Regions from separate parts of the Homo sapiens genome. Here region 2 is linked to region 1. Evidence: promoter capture Hi-C in 16 types of primary human blood cells and fetal thymus (Javierre and others, 2016). All regions are on one chromosome and are shown on one strand. Each heading gives the region's core, a stretch centred on a gene start or on the middle of the fragment in contact. The rest is flanking DNA. Distances are from core to core; before and after follow the strand shown.

The links. Contacts are between HindIII fragments. The CHiCAGO score rates a contact against its expected background, and 5 or more counts as called.
Region 2: a contact is called between the fragment with the promoter of BIRC3 here and the fragment with the promoter of RAB30 in region 1, in 1 of 17 cell types (total B cells). The highest score is 5.6, in total B cells.

What each region holds. Positions count from the first base shown.
Region 1 is chr11:83,069,359-83,073,146 of GRCh38, reverse strand. It overlaps RAB30 (RAB30, member RAS oncogene family), which reads left to right and starts at 1,250. Exons shown (of 5, transcript NM_001286060.2): 1 at 1,250-1,456. It overlaps RAB30-DT (RAB30 divergent transcript), which reads right to left and starts at 1,081. Exons shown (of 3, transcript NR_038903.1): 1 at 1,001-1,081; 2 at 343-524. It overlaps LINC02951 (long intergenic non-protein coding RNA 2951), which reads left to right. Exons shown (of 3, transcript NR_186233.1): 3 at 451-745. RefSeq lists enhancers at 808-1,297, 3,061-3,290, 3,311-3,360. The HindIII fragment of the contact is 10,527 bases long and covers 554-3,788 here.
Region 2 is chr11:102,315,594-102,319,307 of GRCh38, reverse strand. It overlaps BIRC3 (baculoviral IAP repeat containing 3), which reads right to left and starts at 1,824. Exons shown (of 9, transcript NM_001165.5): 1 at 1,737-1,824. It overlaps LOC124902739 (a long non-coding RNA gene), which reads left to right and starts at 2,065. Exons shown (of 2, transcript XR_007062864.1): 1 at 2,065-2,222; 2 at 2,736-3,413. RefSeq lists enhancers at 523-572, 833-1,032, 1,834-2,193, 2,204-2,273, 1,178-2,377. The HindIII fragment of the contact is 7,438 bases long and covers 1-3,714 here.

The DNA.
Region 1 (3,788 bases), core at 1-2,500:
TATTGCCAGACGTCAGAAGGCCTATCATCAATAATATCCCACCCCTCCCGCCTTTTCTGAGACACGGGCTTGCTGTCGCCCAGGCTGGAGCACAGTGGTAGGATCGAGGCTCACTGCAGCCTCAACATCCCGGGCTCAAGCGATCCTCCCACCTCAGCCTCTAGTGTAGCTGCAACTACAGGGGTACACCACCATGCCCAGCTAATTTTTTTGTTTAATGTTTTTGTAGAGACGGTACGGGGTCTCCGCATGTTGCCCAGGCTGGGGTTGAACTCCTAGAATCACGCTATCTCCCCGCGTCTGCCCCCAAAGTGCTGGGATTAAAGGCGTGAGCGACCGCACCTGGCCAATATCCCCTTTGAACATCTGCTTTCGCTGGTTGGTAAAAAAGTGTCATTTTAAATTTAGTGTTACTCCTTCAGGCTATTCCCTCTCTCTTCTTACTTGCAGGGCCAAAGCAACGTCTCTTTCCACCTTGGTCACCTTCCAACAACGATTTCTTCGGACGCCTTTGTTAATCATTCCTGTATGAAAAATCAGTGAATCTGAAGCTTTGGGGAGAGTGAAAGGGGGTTGGAAAACAAACGGCAAAACAAAAATGCATTTCGGAGGACTACCCCAACTCTGTGGGTGGAAGTGGGCTTCTCCGAATAAAGGCGAGGGTCGCCGCCTCGGGTCCTCGCACCTCAACAAAAGACACCAACTCTCTCAACTGTACTGTTAACAGATCTAAATGATACTCCAAGCCCAAAAGTAAACCGACTCTCTCAATCTCTTAGCTAAAAAATGGAGAAGGAAGCGTAGGGCCCCATGCAACCCCTTCAGGAGCTGAGACCGAGGCTCACTGGGCCTCTGGATGCCGCTTCCAGTCGGTCCCGCCCTACATCAGTCCCCAGCATGGCCTCCACCCTCTGGTTCCCAGGTTCGTGCCCGCGGCTATCCGACCAGATCGTCCTCCACCTCACCGTCCCCACTGAACCACCACTTGACTCCTGCGCACCCCTAAAACCTCTGCCCGGCTCCGCGGAATCGTCCCAGTACTCCTAACATGGCGGCCGAGTCCCCTTTGCTCCTTCACTCTGGGCGCGTCCCACTTGGAGCATTTTGGGCATTGTAGTTTCGGGGATTGCCTGGGTATCCCTTCAGGACGTAAGAAGACTACAGTTCCCAGAAAGCACCGCTCCCGAGCATGGCTATTGGGGACGTTTGGACAGAGGGATGATGTCATTGCAAAAGCCCCACTGCATTCATTGTGCTACGGTCTCTCCACCCCCTGCTGCTGCTGGGCTTGCGATTGCCGCTCGCTCCAGCTGAGCTAAGTGTAGCAGCAGCACCAGGGCAGGGACTGACTCCAGCCCTTGGACTCAGGACATCGCAGACCTTCCCTTGCGTGCGTGACTCATTCGCACATCCATTTCTGTTTATGCCTGGGGTGGGGAGAAAAATCCCAAACCAGGTGAGTTGAAGTGATTTATTCAAATGCTTCTACCAAGTTATTCCTCCCGCTTAGTTCTCAAGGCTTTCTTTTGGGAAGCTGTGAGCGGTGGGGAGGTGGGGGGGATTGGGGAGAGGCTTGCAGGCACAGCTAAGGGGAAAAGCTCTGTGCCATTTGGGTCACTGCAAAGAACAACTCCAGCAACCTTCCCCCGCCAGAGGACGGGTGCCTGCCAATTCCCTAGTCGCAACTCCTCTCAACCTTTTTGAGGCGGAGAGAGGGGGCTGGGCTGGGAAGGATGTTGGGGAGTGCTCTTGGAAAATCTGAGGAAGGCAGAGGTGGGGGACTGCAGTCCTGTCACACACGGCCCGAGAGCTGAGGTTTGAGTGGGAAGGGGTGATGCGTGGGGAGAAATGGAGACAGTGAATTAATGTGGTCGCACTACTTTAGAACATTTGAATGTCGCTTGGACGAGCACTAGTTATTAATTTTTAAGATGAACGTGCTTAAGTTTTGTAGGGCTTTATTTTATGTGTGTATGTCTATGTGGTTTGTCTCGCCTTTTCTGCTGATTTGAGGTGACAGTGTCCTTTAATGGTGCACTCCGTGCCAGTCAGAAACATTTCACGTGTCTGGCGAAGGTTCTTTCAGGCTGCTGGAAGCAGCGTTTTTGTTAAATGTTTTCCGTTCTCCGACTGCTGGATTCAAGATTGTTTGGAAGTGGAGCCGACAGATTTGTGCTTGTGTGTTTTAAATTACATTGCATAGGCTCTTTGCCACTGACAATGGTACCATAATGAGCTGCTGTTTCCTGAGGCATAGTCACTACTCACAAATAACGGTTTGAAGAGATCGATTAGGGAAGAGGGGTTCATTTTAACACATTAGAGAAAGGGAAAGTTAGAAGCGCTGTTAACCTTCATTTGCCATTACTGAAAGGTGCCCATGGAAGAGTGATTTTGGTTGTTTTGTTATTGTTGTTTTTTTAAACGAACTGACATTTAACAGGAGAGAAAGCATTCTGACTTACATGATGCTCTTGTAAGAGTTATAGGGATAATTAGGGCAATAGATATGTTACTTTGAGATAAACAGCTGGCTGGCTCCACAACAGATGGGGCCAGTCTTGGCTGAGAGATCTACACCCTTGGAAATGAATGGGCCTGGGGTCAACCACACCCCCTCTTGGAATGTCAAAAGAAGGAGAAATGCCAGAGTATTTGCTTAACTCTAGAATGCTAAACCTTTTCCTAGCTGAGTCAGACATGGGCGAAATTCTTTACTGGCTGTCTTCTGCTGCTAAGCCAATTTTGTTCATTTTAAATTCAGATCCTTAGGTCTCCAAAGTTGTAGCTGTGTGATATTTCATTAAATGCTGCTTGATGCTGAATGCAAAGGACAGTCCATTGTATGGGCTTTGTAGTAGAGTGATTTATTGGGATGCCAATGAGCAGCTTTTGGATTTGGGAAAAGATCAACAGTTAGCCTTTGCCTCTGCGTCTCTCTGTTGATGACGCTCTGCTCTTCTGGACACCCTACCCTTCTCTCCTGTACTTTCATTTCTTCCCCCCACCCCACCCCATCCCACCCACATCTCTTGAAATTCTGTTTATTTCTCTATCTCTCCATTTGCAGTTTACATTTTTCCTTTCTGTTTCAAAACCCCTCCTTTATCACCAGCATATCACATCTCTTTCTCTTCAATCTTAGAACACACTCCCTGGTCCTCCACTTCAACTAGGAACTCCTGGGTGGATGTAGACTATGTGAATATTTTTGCAGAATCCTCTTTGAAGAGAATTTCTTTGCCTTTTCTTTTTCTTGCAGTCTGTGCTTGGCAGGATGAGCAGCAATGAGCCTGACCCCTGGTCTGGTTTGTAGTTCCTGTGACAGACATAATTTAGCCCCAGCAGCATGTGAACAATGAAATGCTGCAGTTGGGCTCATGCCACTTTTCCTTTCACTGGCACCTGCCTATGGATTAGCAAGGTTTTTAAATGCTCTACATGAAATGTTCTCATAATTCCCAAGGAATAAGTAGTCTTCAAGTGGCTTGCCTTATACAATACATTTTTTTTTTCCTTATCCTTGCTGCAGCTGGTGGTGGGAAGGCTGATCTTTCCCCCCTCTTTCTTCCTGTTCCCTGTGGATTGCTGAGTAGCAATCCAGGTGGCCAAACTGCCCATTTGGTTTTTTGAAGATACTTGGAGGACAACAGTTCCCCACCCACCCTGGTTGTTTCTTCTCCTCTGTGCAGGAAAGAAGTTTGTTATTTTATTCTCTTCTCTTAACGGGAAGAGTGTGATAGTGGCTATATTTGTTTATGTAACAGCAGTGCTCCTCTAGGTGTGGA
Region 2 (3,714 bases), core at 575-3,074, about 19 Mb before region 1:
TCAGGAGGCTGAGGCGAGTGGATCACGAGGTCAGGAGACTGAGACCATCCTGGCTAACACGGTGAAACCCCGTCTCTACTAAAAAAAATACAAAAAATTAGCCGGGTGTGGTGGCATGCACCTGTAGTCCCAGCTGCTCAGGAGGCTGAGGCAGGAGAATCGCTTGAACCCGGGAGGTGGAGGTTGCAGTAAGCCGAGACTGCACCACTGCACTCCAGCCTGGGTGACAGAGTGAGACTCTGTCTCAAAAAAAAAAAAAAAAAATCCTCTTTCAACCACACTTTCCACTCTAGCAACTACCCTGTATCACCCCTTCTCTTCACAGCCAAGCAAACTGGACATGTGTGTATGGTTAATGTCTCCATTTTCCCTCTCCCATTTACTCATTAAGTCAGCATCACTTAAAACTGCTTTCGGTGTTAATAACACCAATGGCTTTTTTGCTAAAACCAATGGAAATGTTTGCATCTGACACTGGGACACACTTCCTCTTAGAAATGTCCCATTCCCTGGGCTTCTCTGATACCAAGCTCTTGGGATTCTTCTTTCATTTCTAGTGGTTCCTTCTCAGATTGGCTCAGTCCCCAGCCTCTCCTCTTCTGACTCATTCATTTAACCTACCAAGAAGGCAACCTCCCCAGTCCCAGGGCTGTTGGGCATCCCTACCCTTTGGGCATGCAGCACATCCATTTTTCTGACACTGGAGGGCAAGTGTGCCTTTTCTTTCTGCCTCCCGCTAGACAGTAAGCTCTTTTAGAATGGCAACTATTAATATGTTTCATCTCTGTACCTGCCCTCCCACTCATAGCATCTGCAGAGCTTGGTATATGGGGTAGACACGAAGACTTCCCGTTGAAGAAGTAAATGACTGAGACCTGAGTGACCACAGTACTTCTATCAATTTTATATTAATGACCACAGAGTCAGCTCAGTGATTGATTAGTATCAGGCTTTGGAGTCAGACATCGGGGGTGCCCAATACCAAGCAGTCCGGTAACCAGAAGCATGACCTTGCACAAGTAAATCTCCAAGAGCCTCAGTTTCCTCATTGTCAAATGGAGATAATTATGGTACCTGCTTCTTAAGATTATGATAATTAAACGTGAAAAATACATGTAAAGTCTTCAGAGACAAACCTAGCACATAGCAGGTAGCAGTACTTAATGTTAGCAATAAATAATAGCAAATAAAGTCAATATTTAATATTATTGTTACGTTAGCATCAGGTACATGCCTTCGACAATGTATTGATCAGAGTAAGAGCACTACTAGGTTTCCATGCTGATCACCAGGAAGACAACCAAAAACTGCTGTCTTCCTACCACCGCTTGGAAACATGCGTCCATTTGCTCATTAAACGTTTTACTTCCTTCCTGTGCCAGAGCTCTGCCTTAGGCTCTGTCCTGAAATTTATTTGGCACCTGCAAAGGCCCAGTGATAACTCTTGGCAACCGAATCAAAATGCCACAACTTCACAATTCCACTGGCTCACTCCAAACGTGAAATAGAAATTGAGCACCTGGAACCTATCTAGAGCCTGCTTTTGGGCCCTGGTGTTTGATAACTGCGCCCCACCCACTGACTCTCAACCTCTGCAGCGCCCCGGGCTCTAGCCCTAAGCGCCCCTCGGCCAGCCGCTGGCACATCTCTTACACCAGGGGAGGCGCGCGCGCGCGCACACATACACACACACACACGCACACACACACACACACACACCAGCCTTCCTTGCCCACCTGCTGCCCAGAGGCCGACGACGCATGCACCAGCAAGGACAAGCCCAGTCTTTTCAAGCGACACCTGTCGCCTGGCCTTTTCCGTGCCGGAGGGCGCGAGTCTCACGCTGTCTTTTAAATGCGTCACCCAAATCCCCACCCCTATCTGTACCAGGCGTTCCGCACTCCTCCCAGTGGTTTGCATGTGCACTGGTGCTTTCCTTTTAGGACTTAGGGGAACTCCAGCGGTAATAACCACACACACTTCCTCTTAATCAGTGGCCTGGCAAACCCACTCGGGGATTTCCATGACCCAAAAGCATGACTCTTAACCGTGGCATATCTTCGCGGCATTTACTGAAAGACATTTGCTTCATTGCTCGTGGGTCAGAGGAAATCTTGATAACAACCCATATAGAGAGGACGATCATTGCTTAGCCTGCCTGGAAAAGGTCAATATGCCCTGTTCTCCACCCTCCATCCGCCATACACTTTACACGTAAAAAGGTTAGGTTTTTCAATCTTCTACTATAGCTGCAGAAGTCCAGCATTTAAAAAAAAAAAAATCGAAACTTTGTGAAATATTTCTATTTATTTTTACTTTTTGTTCTGATCAAGAAAGTAAGAGGTGAAAGGAAATGTAGGGGTATGTGAAAAAAATCATGCAGTTCTCCTTTGCAGTTTATTTTACCATTTTAAAGATTGAAATGGCTTGGTAAATTTTCTGTATGGAAATACTTTTGTTTGGTTTGGTGAGTTGTTTTTTTTTTTTTTTTAATAAGTAGGGTGGAGTTGGCTACTTAAAAAAATCCCTCCTTTATAGCCTTTGATCTCACAGGGCAGGTTTCTGAGTTGCAGTGCCATTCTCAGGGAAACCTGACATCTTTGAGTCTAATTGCACTGCCATATTTCCCTCAACGTTCTCTAAGCAGTAAATTTAAGCAACTTTATCTGAGAGCCATCCGTACCAGGGTAACAGATGGATTTGGAGAGCTCATCTGATTTTCTATCTTCCAGTAGATCAAAGACAATTACCAACCAGAGACAGAGCCCATAAAGATTATTGGAGACTTCATCGTTCTGTGGAAACAGCATCCAGTGCATTCTGCACGCAATTGGACTGAGCTGAGGCATCCTCTTGTTTAGGTGGACTTGGCTGTCCATAGCAGCTGAAGTTCCAGTTGGAATTATTTCAGAAAGACTAAGTGTATTTATCATATGGAGATTTTAATCCACATTTGAGTCTGCTTCAATCAAGACTTTCTAAGCCATTTTCAACTCACTCCTGAGATTATTGAAAATAATTTGCAGGCCTTACACATTTTTGATTATGTACTCACCAGAAGAATTTTGAAAAGCTCTGCATTCCCTTGCCCATTTTTAACTTAACATTAAAACATAAAGCTCTTGTACATGTCAAGAATCTACAAAATGTAAACATAGATATTTTCAGAAAAAATTGATAGAGCACTCTTTTAAATGTATTTGATGGATCCTAATACCATAGTAATTTGACATACATGATCATCCATGAAGCAATTATCAGGTCATCTTTAATAACTGAAAATATTTTATCATTGCCTTTTGTCATTGAACATTCCAATTCCCCTACAGAATGTTAATACATGTTTGTACTGAACATCTTTTATCATCTCTCTGTCACATATCTCTGAAACAAATACATATTAGAACTTGAAATCTATTTTTTTCTCTGGGATCATAAGGATCTAAGTGTTAAAAAAAAAAAAAATTCCTCTTTGACCAGGCATGGTGGCTCACGCCTATAATACCAGCACTTTGGGAGGCGAAGGTGGGTGGATCATCTGAGGTCAGGAGTTCAAGACCAGTCTGGCCAACATGGTGAAACCGGTCTCTCCCAAAAATACAAAAATGAGCCAAGTGTGGTGGTGCACGCCTGTAGTCCCAGCTACTTGGGAGGCTGAGGCACAAGAATCACTTGAACCTGGGAGGCAGAGGTTGCAATGAGTCAAGACAGTGC